Linked DNA regions of Homo sapiens: regions 1 and 2 are each linked to region 3. The links are contacts of gene promoters, found by promoter capture Hi-C in blood cells and fetal thymus (Javierre and others, 2016). All regions are on one chromosome and are shown on one strand. Each heading gives the region's core, a stretch centred on a gene start or on the middle of the fragment in contact. The rest is flanking DNA. Distances are from core to core; before and after follow the strand shown. Region 1 overlaps FAM83F (family with sequence similarity 83 member F). Region 2 overlaps FAM83F (family with sequence similarity 83 member F). Region 3 holds the start of MGAT3-AS1 (MGAT3 antisense RNA 1).

Evidence for each region. The method cuts DNA at HindIII sites, captures the fragments that hold promoters and counts their contacts. A CHiCAGO score of 5 or more calls a contact.
Region 1: a fragment that was not itself captured here is called in contact with the fragment with the promoter of MGAT3-AS1 in region 3 in 1 of 17 cell types (total CD4 T cells); the score reaches 6.4 in total CD4 T cells.
Region 2: a fragment that was not itself captured here is called in contact with the fragment with the promoter of MGAT3-AS1 in region 3 in 2 of 17 cell types (naive CD4 T cells and total CD4 T cells); the score reaches 5.5 in naive CD4 T cells.

The regions. Positions count from the first base shown.
Region 1 is chr22:40,001,508-40,004,207 of GRCh38, forward strand. The region is part of intron 1 of FAM83F (family with sequence similarity 83 member F); the gene reads left to right. Among named protein-coding and RNA genes, the nearest start is that of FAM83F, 7.9 kb to the left of the region's middle. The HindIII fragment of the contact is 1,169 bases long and covers 779-1,947 here.
Region 2 is chr22:40,017,961-40,020,803 of GRCh38, forward strand. It overlaps FAM83F (family with sequence similarity 83 member F), which reads left to right. Exons shown (of 5, transcript NM_138435.4): 2 at 1,208-1,375; 3 at 1,927-2,048. Among named protein-coding and RNA genes, the nearest start is that of FAM83F, 24 kb to the left of the region's middle. The HindIII fragment of the contact is 3,847 bases long and covers 1-2,843 here.
Region 3 is chr22:39,475,571-39,478,270 of GRCh38, forward strand. MGAT3-AS1 (MGAT3 antisense RNA 1) reads right to left here and starts at 1,252. Exons shown (of 2, transcript NR_126469.1): 1 at 888-1,252; 2 at 237-369. The region is part of intron 1 of MGAT3 (beta-1,4-mannosyl-glycoprotein 4-beta-N-acetylglucosaminyltransferase); the gene reads left to right. The HindIII fragment of the contact is 5,409 bases long and covers 1-2,700 here.

The DNA.
Region 1 (2,700 bases), core at 113-2,612, 530 kb after region 3:
GTCTACCTGTAATCCCAACTACTCTGGAGGCTGAGCTGGGTAGGTAGGAGGATTGCTTGATCATGGGAGGTGGAGGTTGCGGTGAGCAGAGATTTCGCCACTGCACTCCAGCCTGGGTGCCAGAGTGAAACTCTATCTCAAAATAAATAAATAAAAAACAAAACAAAAAAACCCAAAAAGATAAGAAAAACAAGGGAGAAACCATGTGTGAAAGCTGAGGATACTGGAAAGTATCATACAAATGTTCATTATTTTAGAAAGTAACTGCTGTCATCTCTGCCTTTTTGCAGAGCAGAGGAGGGAAGGGTGGCCAAATTTTCTCCCCAGAAGTTAGGGAGCCCCACCCAGGAGATTAGAGGTAGGGGAATTGGGAGGGCCAAAGACCCTGTGCCGGCGTGTTTCCTGTTTCCACCTTTGAGCGAGACAGGAGTGGCTGCCCACAGCCCTCCCAGCCGCTCACTGTATTGATCTGTTTGCCTTGATTTGGTGGTGGTGGGCCGTGGTTGGTAAGGGCAGCTTTCTGCCGGCCTCCGAGCTGCCTTCGGGAGGCTGTGGCGTTGGAATCCTCAGCCCAGGATCTATGCTGGGATCTGGCATGGGCAGAGAGGGATAAAGCAGGAAGGTGCAGAGGCTTCCTTGTTCCTAAAGCGGGGGTCCCCTGAGGATGTTCCCCACACACGGTCATCCTGAAGGGCCAGACTGCTGCACAGGCCCAGCCCAGAGAGCCCCAGGGCAGCCTGGAAAGACTCCCCAAGTTCTTTTAGTTCTGGAGAACTAAAGCTTTCATTGGAACAAGAGGGTGGAGCTGCTGATGGTTAACCCTGATGTAATCATTGCCTTGGGCTGTGTTTCCCTCTTTGGGGAAGAGGGAGGGGAGAGTTGGCTCCTCTGAAATCCGATACTTTGGGTCCCTGAACCTCTGAGGATGGGTGTTTCCCAGAAAGTTCAAAAGTAGAAGTTGGGGCCTCAGTAAACTTCATGACCTTCTCTTGAAGGTTCACGGTAGCAAAGCCAGTTCTGTTGGGTGGAGGTCTCCAAAAGTCCAGGCCACTGGCGGGTGGAGGGATCCCATGCGGCTGGGAGCCAGGAGCCTGGGAATCGTCATTTTTGCCCTGGCCATCTCTTTCCTAGCTCACTGGGTGACGTGGGGTACATCATTTAGCTTTGCTGGGCCTCTGTTTCTGCATCTCTAACATGGGGATAATTCTTGCCTTCTTATTTCCACAAATTGTTCTGAGAACCTAGTTCAAGGCTATGAGAAAGCACTTTGAGAAGGGTGAGTGATGCGTGCAGTAAAAGGGATTTCTCTGAAGAAGGGCTAATGTTGAGTGACAGGATCGGTGCCCTGTGTGCCATTTCGTTTCGTTAATCCAACCCTCAGCACCTTGCAAAGGAAGAGATATTTTCCCTGAGGCTCCGGGAAAGCATAAGGTTGCAGAACTCAGAAGAGGCTGGGGGAGATTCCACCCAGGTCTCAGCTCAAAGTGGTGTCCATCCACGGCAGTTGCCCTTGGGAATTGTCCTCTGGGGCCATCTCTTCCTCTAAAACTTGCAGAAACATTCAAAGTCTGTATGTCGCCAGCCAGGCCCTGGGAGGCTCTTGGACCAGTTCTAGAGACAGACAAGTACACAACTGCCAGCTGGTCCACTCTGTGCTAAGGCTGGGGAAGAGGGTTCCTCCTGCCTAGTGACATTGAGGCAGGTAACACAGGGAAGCTGGGTACAGGTAGTTTCTCCAGAGACCTAGATTGTCCTCTTTATGGCCACTTTCTGGCCCCCTGGGACTTACGCCCCTCCCTGACAGGCTGAGACCTTGAAGTGAATCCTAGCCCAGCAACTGTCAGTCCCCCCATCTTCTCACCCCCAGGGATGCTGCCTCACCTTGGCTGGTGGCCAGATCTGCCTCCCTTTTCTTAGAGCGTGCAAAGCAGAGCCTATTTGGGGACAAGCTTCCAATCCAAGCTGGGGGAGGTGGGGAGGAGGGCAGAGAACAAATGAGCCCAGGGCTGCGTCCTAGCTGACCACCTGCCCCCTGCTCAGGGGGGGTGTCCTGAGCCACCCCCAAGGCTGAGTCATTCTAGCTATCCCTGCCTGCCCCCACCCCCACACACCATGCCAGGTGCCATGACCAGCCGGCCTCAGCTGGAGCTGCTGCCCTTCCCAGTTTCCTTGTTCATTCTCTGAAATCAGAGTCTGTGGACTTGCTAATGATCCCATAATCTTAGCCCTGGAAGAGAGCCTATGGCTTTTCTAATTATTAGTCTCTCTGGCCCAGGTTTCCAATAATCTGGAAACATATGCACGCCGGGGCACAGCTTGCACGCCGGTCATCATTCTGCTGGGCTCCTTGCAGTCCTGGCAAGGCATGTGGGAGGCTCCGGATAAGTGTTATTTTATTTATTTATTTATTTTTCAGCAGTGAGTCAGGAGATGGGGGTGCGGAGGTGGGACCCAGAACTCTCTACCTTTCAGTGGGCCATTGAGGACAGACTATGAGTTTCCCGAACTCACCCGCCTGGGAGGGCTCCCAGATGGCCTGGAGATTCCTTGCATTTGCTCATTCACTCACCATGTTTCACTGAGACCCAACTATGTGCCAGGAACCAGAAATTTACAGAGGAGTACGGTGAGAATTCTGCCTTAAGTCTAATGGGGGGTGACAAAAAGAAACTAAATTTCAGCACAGTGGTAGGGGTGGGG
Region 2 (2,843 bases), core at 338-2,837, 540 kb after region 3:
TCACACGCAGGGTGTTTGGGCCAATAAGAAAGCCTTCAGCTGGAGCGTGGAGCATGGTTTGTGTAGGAAGCTGGAAGTAGCTGTGGTTAGAAAGGTGGAGCTGCCTCAGGCTGCATAAACCTTGCCTTCCAGGGTGGATAATCAGGACTGATTTTTGTAAATGAAGGGTCCTGAGCAATGACCTTGATTTGAGGATGGCGTAGGATGGGATGGACACCTGAAGGCCAAGGGAATCCAAGCCAGCCGGAGCTCTGCCTGGATCTGTGCCTGGGGAAGCACAGAGCTTCGCACAGCTGCAAGGCCATCAGCGCATCCAGGCCTGCTGAGAAAGTGATGTTTGAGCAGATGTGTGGCTCACGGAGATGAGCCCACCCCTGGCATCTCCGTGATGGCATCTCCTTGTGCCTGCTTGTTTTTCTAGGGTGTCAGGAGCAACTTTCCTCAGGCCCCTAGATCTCCCATGATATGGCTTCTTTATTCCATTTTATTTATTTATTTATTTGAGACAGTCTCTATCACCCAGGCTGGAGTGCAATGGCACGATCTCGGCTAACTGCAACCTCCATCTCCTGGGTTCAAGTAATTCTCCTGCCTCAGCCTCCCCAGTAGCTGGCATTACAGGTGCCTGCCACCACGCCTGGCTAATTTTTTTTTTTTTTTTCGCTCTTGTTGCCCTGGCTGGAGTGCAACGGCGCAATCTTGGCTCACTGCAAACTCTGCCTCCAGGTTCAGGCAATTCTCCTGCCTCAGCCTCCCAAGTAGCTGGGATTACAGGTGCCCGCTACCATGCCCAGCCCATTTTTTGTATTTTTAATAGAGGGTTTCACCATGTTGGCCAGGCTGGTCTCAAACTCCTGACCTCAGGTGATCCACCTGCCTTGGCCTCCCAAAGTGCTAGGATTACAGGTGTGAGCCACCTTGCCTGGCCCTGATACAGTTTCTTAAGAGCTGCTGGAAGACCCCCAGGATGGGGAGGTGGGGATTTGTCCAGGATGAAGTACAAGCACACGGCCTGCACCCCCAGGCCCATCTCCAGGGCTCAGATATGCTCAAAGATCGGGGGACGTGGAACTCCAGGAATGGTACAGGTGGAGTTTTTGACTCTTGGCCACCAGTGACCCCAGGGCGAGGTGGTACCATCTGAGCAGGGCATGCCTCTGTGGGCGTGTAGACACCGTGTGCCTCACCAGTGCCTTTCCCCACCCAGGTCATTGCTGTGGTCATGGACCTCTTCACTGATGGTGATATCTTTCAAGACATTGTGGATGCTGCCTGTAAGCGCCGGGTCCCAGTGTACATCATCCTGGACGAGGCAGGAGTGAAGTATTTCCTGGAGATGTGTCAGGACCTGCAGCTCACTGACTTCCGGATTCGGGTAAGTTGCACCACTGGGGTGGAAAGTGGACAGGAGATGAGACAGAGACTACCTCTGCCCCGTCCTGCAGCTCCCCCCTGCCTCTTCCCTGAATGGGGGCTCAGGCGAACTTCAAGATCTCAACACCTTTCCTTTTGTTGAAAGTCAAGCCTTTAACCTTGGCTTTACTGTTAACTACTGAATCATATGCCCAGTTTCAATTTTATCCCTAGGCTGCTGAGACTGAAGGAGGGAGCTCTGGGCTGGTCCTGGGGTGCTTAGCCTGCAGAATCACTGATGTCAAAGTGAGGGCTGTTGTTCTCTTCTGGGGCCTTTTGAGAAGAGGCAGGAACCACCCTGGGCTTGTCCATGCCTGAAGCAAGATTTGGGGACTTCTTCCTGCTCGCCAAAGAGGGTTCCCTATGGAAGGCTGTAGGAAGCAGAGCGTCTAGTGAAGACAGGAGCCTGCAGGCAGGGTCCATACACAAGGGGGCTCTTCCTCTGCAGAAGCAAGGACCTGGCACGGAGGCTGGCCCAACCCAGGTGACAGGGCCTTCTGCTCTTCCCAACAGAACATCCGTGTCCGCTCTGTGACAGGCGTCGGCTTCTACATGCCCATGGGGAGGATCAAGGGGACCCTGTCATCAAGGTTCCTGATGGTGGACGGTGACAAAGTGGCCACTGGATCTTACAGGTGAGTTGGGCCGGATCAAAGAAGGGCCCAGGAGGCCTTGATTCCAGGTAGGTGTTCAGGAAGATGCCAGACCGGAGCCTCCGTCATCATGAGTGTGTAACAGGGATCATCTGACGCAATAGCAAAGGACAGCTTTCTGCCCAGTCCCTTCCCTCAAACTTCCTGGTTGATGGATTATTCTAAAAAGAGGGTCAACTCTTCCTAGGCATTACGCACTGTCTGTTTTTCATGGTCCATTTGCAGCCAGTTGCATTTTGAGGCTAGTCATTAGGTAGGACAAGCAGGAAGTGGGATGCACCAGATCTGGAAAGAAACGGGAAGGTGTGGTGTGCAGGGAATGTCGCCAGAATTTTTTTTTTTTTTTTTTTTTTTGAGACGGAGTCTTGCTCCGTTGCCCAGGCTGGACTGCAGTGGCATGATCTCGGCTCACTGCAACCTCTGCCTCCCGGATTCAAGCGATTCTCCTGCCTCAGCCTCCCTAGTAGCCGGGATTACAGGTGCCTACCACCATGCTCAGCTAATTTTTGTATTTTTAGTAGAGAAGGGGTTTCACCATGTTGGCCAGGCTGGTCTCGAACTTTTGACCTCAAGTGATCCGCCCGCCTCAGCCTCCCAAAATGCTGAGATTACAGGTGTGAGCCTGGCCTCAGAATTCTGATTTTAAAATAATTTAGCAGGAACACGAGAGACTGTATCTGTGTAATCTCTGCCCTCCAAGTAAATTAAAATATAGGTGACGAGAAGAGAGAGCTGAGCACATGAAACAGTGAATAGCAGGGTAAGTCCTGTCACATG
Region 3 (2,700 bases), core at 2-2,501:
AGCTCACCACTGCCCCGCCCCTGGCCCTCCCCTTCATCACGGGCCGTCTCTCAGGCTTGGCGCCCTGGGATGCTCCCTTGCTCCAGCTCTGTGACTGTCCCCATGAGGGTCCTCCCTCAGTGCAGCCCCATCTCTCCAGCGGTGCTGGCACGATGGACCCGGTTGACTCCCTGCCTCCTGCCCTCTCCGTTCAGTCTAAACTGCACAGTCTAACGTAGGAACCACTAGAGCATGCAGCTATTAAAATTCAAATTAAATTAAGCTGGGTATGGTGGTGTGAGACTTGTCCCAACTACTCACGAGGCTGAGATGGGAGGATTGCTTGAGTCCAGGAATTCACATACAGCCTGGGTAACATAGGTCTCGTCTCTAAAAAACAAAAACAAAAACATTATGGAATGAGCCTCTGGGGATGAGGAGCTGATGTCCTGAATGGACCAGTGACCAGTGCAGGAGGGGTGGAGTCCTAGCAGGGGTAGATCCCAGCTTTGGGAACCAACTTTCCCAGGCACTTGCCGGCCACTCCGTGGGAAAGTCCTCAGGCAGCCTGCAGGGAGCTGGGATCAGCTGATGGGGATGGGTTTGGAGGGGAGAGAGTGGTGCACAGGGACTGGAGGTGGGGGAGGGGTGGGGTTGCCATGGAAAGGGCTCTTGGGATGGGTCTTGGGCTGAGCCTTTGGCAAGGCCTCCACCCTGGAGCTGAGCCAGCAGAGAGTGGGGCTGACTCCATGAGGCCCAGACTCTCGTGGGTATTCTGGTGGCCTGGGCACCCTGTCTTTCCTGAACCCTGCCTGCCTAATCTAAGAACTGCTCCCCTTGTAGCTCTGTCTCTCCTCTGTTGGCCTAGTTTCTTCATCCATGGGTGGGCACAGCAGAAGCTGTCTCACCTGCTCCATGGTGAACGGGATTTGCAAGGATTTGACTCTGGCCATCCAGGGAAGATGGAGTCTTTGACCAGGCCTGGCCCCTGAAGCAGACTTCTTCCTTCTGAGCCTGCTGGGGAAGCAGAATTCCTCGATGCTGGGTGTCATGGTCTACCAGGCCCTCCCTCGCCCAGGCCACTTGTGTTGAGCCTGGAGCAGAACCCCCAGATCTGTAGTCCGCCTGTCAGCTTGGGGAGTCTCCGTTTCCGTCTGTTTCATTCCCATCAGCTGTGTGTGGCTGAGCAAGTCACTTAACCTCTTGAGGCCTCCATGTCCTCATCTGCAAAATGGAGACACACATATCTGCGTCCCCGATGACCACCAGTAGCTGGGATGATACGTCGACTGCAGAGTGACCACTTTGTGTAGGCGTCCCTGTGGATGGTTGTCAGTCAAAGGAGTGAGTCAGATGATGAGAGGGGAGGACAGCAGAGCAGCAGTTGTTTCTTCAGTCTCGCCGGGACTCCAGGATCGGCCATGTTCTGCAGCCACCGCCTCTACCTGTCTCCCCATGTGGGATCCTGAAACCTCAAGCTGCATTTAGTTTCAGAGTCCGGGGAGGTGCTCACTGTCTTCTGACTCCTGAGATGCCGACTCCCTCTGCCATACCCCAGGGAAGGAACCAGTAGCAGAAGCTCCAGGGAAACTGATGAAGGTCAACAGAAGGAAGAACTTCTAGCAGCCCAAAGGGATTGGAATGGGCGGCCCGTGGGAGTGGACATGCAGAGGCACTGGCCTGGGGTGAAGCCTTGGACCAAATTCTTACTTGCAGGCCCTCTGGACCCAGGAGAGGAGTCTGCAGGCCTCGGCTGGGCCGGATTCCGCAGATTCTGGCCTAGGTCCTGAATGCCTGGTGAGTTACTGAGAAAGGCCCTACAGGCTGAGGGTGCCAGTCAGGGTGAAGCAGCCCCGCAATTGGCCCACCTCCTTTTGTACCTTAACAAAGGTGTCTTTGTTACCTTTCTTAAAGGAAATAAAGCCGGTCAGGAGCAAGGCCTGGCATATTCAGGGGGTCATCTGTATTTGGTCGTCCAGCGGGAAACCCAAATGGAAGGAAAGAAAAAAAAAAAAAACCATGCATTTATAGAACCTCTGCCAATGGCCAGGCTCCATGCAGAATGCTTTGACACCGTGGCTCAGCCAGGTCTCCCACAGGACTGCAAAACAGAGGGTGACATCTTTCTTTTAGATCGGAGAAGACTGAGGACCAGAGAAGCTAAGTAACTTGCCAAAGGGCACACAGCAAGTAAGTCATGGCACTGGGATTCAAACCAAATCCTCCAGACTTCCAGTAACAGTGGAGCCGGCGTGTCCTGAGCATCTGTTGTGTGCTTAGGCATGGTCCCTAGCTTTTTGCGGGGATTAACTCACTCAACTCTCACAACAACCCTGTGAGACAGAAACGGTTATACCTCCGTATCGTGGAGGGGGAAACTGAGGCACGGGGAGGCAGAGTGACTTGCCAAGGCCACAAGCAGTGTTCGGATCTGGCCATTGTGGCCACTGGCCTACCTTGTGCCCCAGGAGCTGCTGTACATGGCAGGGATTGCTGCAAAGATGTGCCTCCTGCCTTCTTTTTGGAGGTGGCAGAGCCCTTAGGTCACATGGGGCAGGACCAGGCCGGGTGGAAGGTGAGCACAGGGAGACGGGCTTCAGCGCGAAGCCCTTTCGTACAGTTGAACTAACTCCTGGAGAGGTAGTGCGGGTCCACCCCAAGGTGTACCAGGGCTGGGGGCAGTGGATGGGCTACTTCCTGCCCAGAAGTAGAGACTGAGGT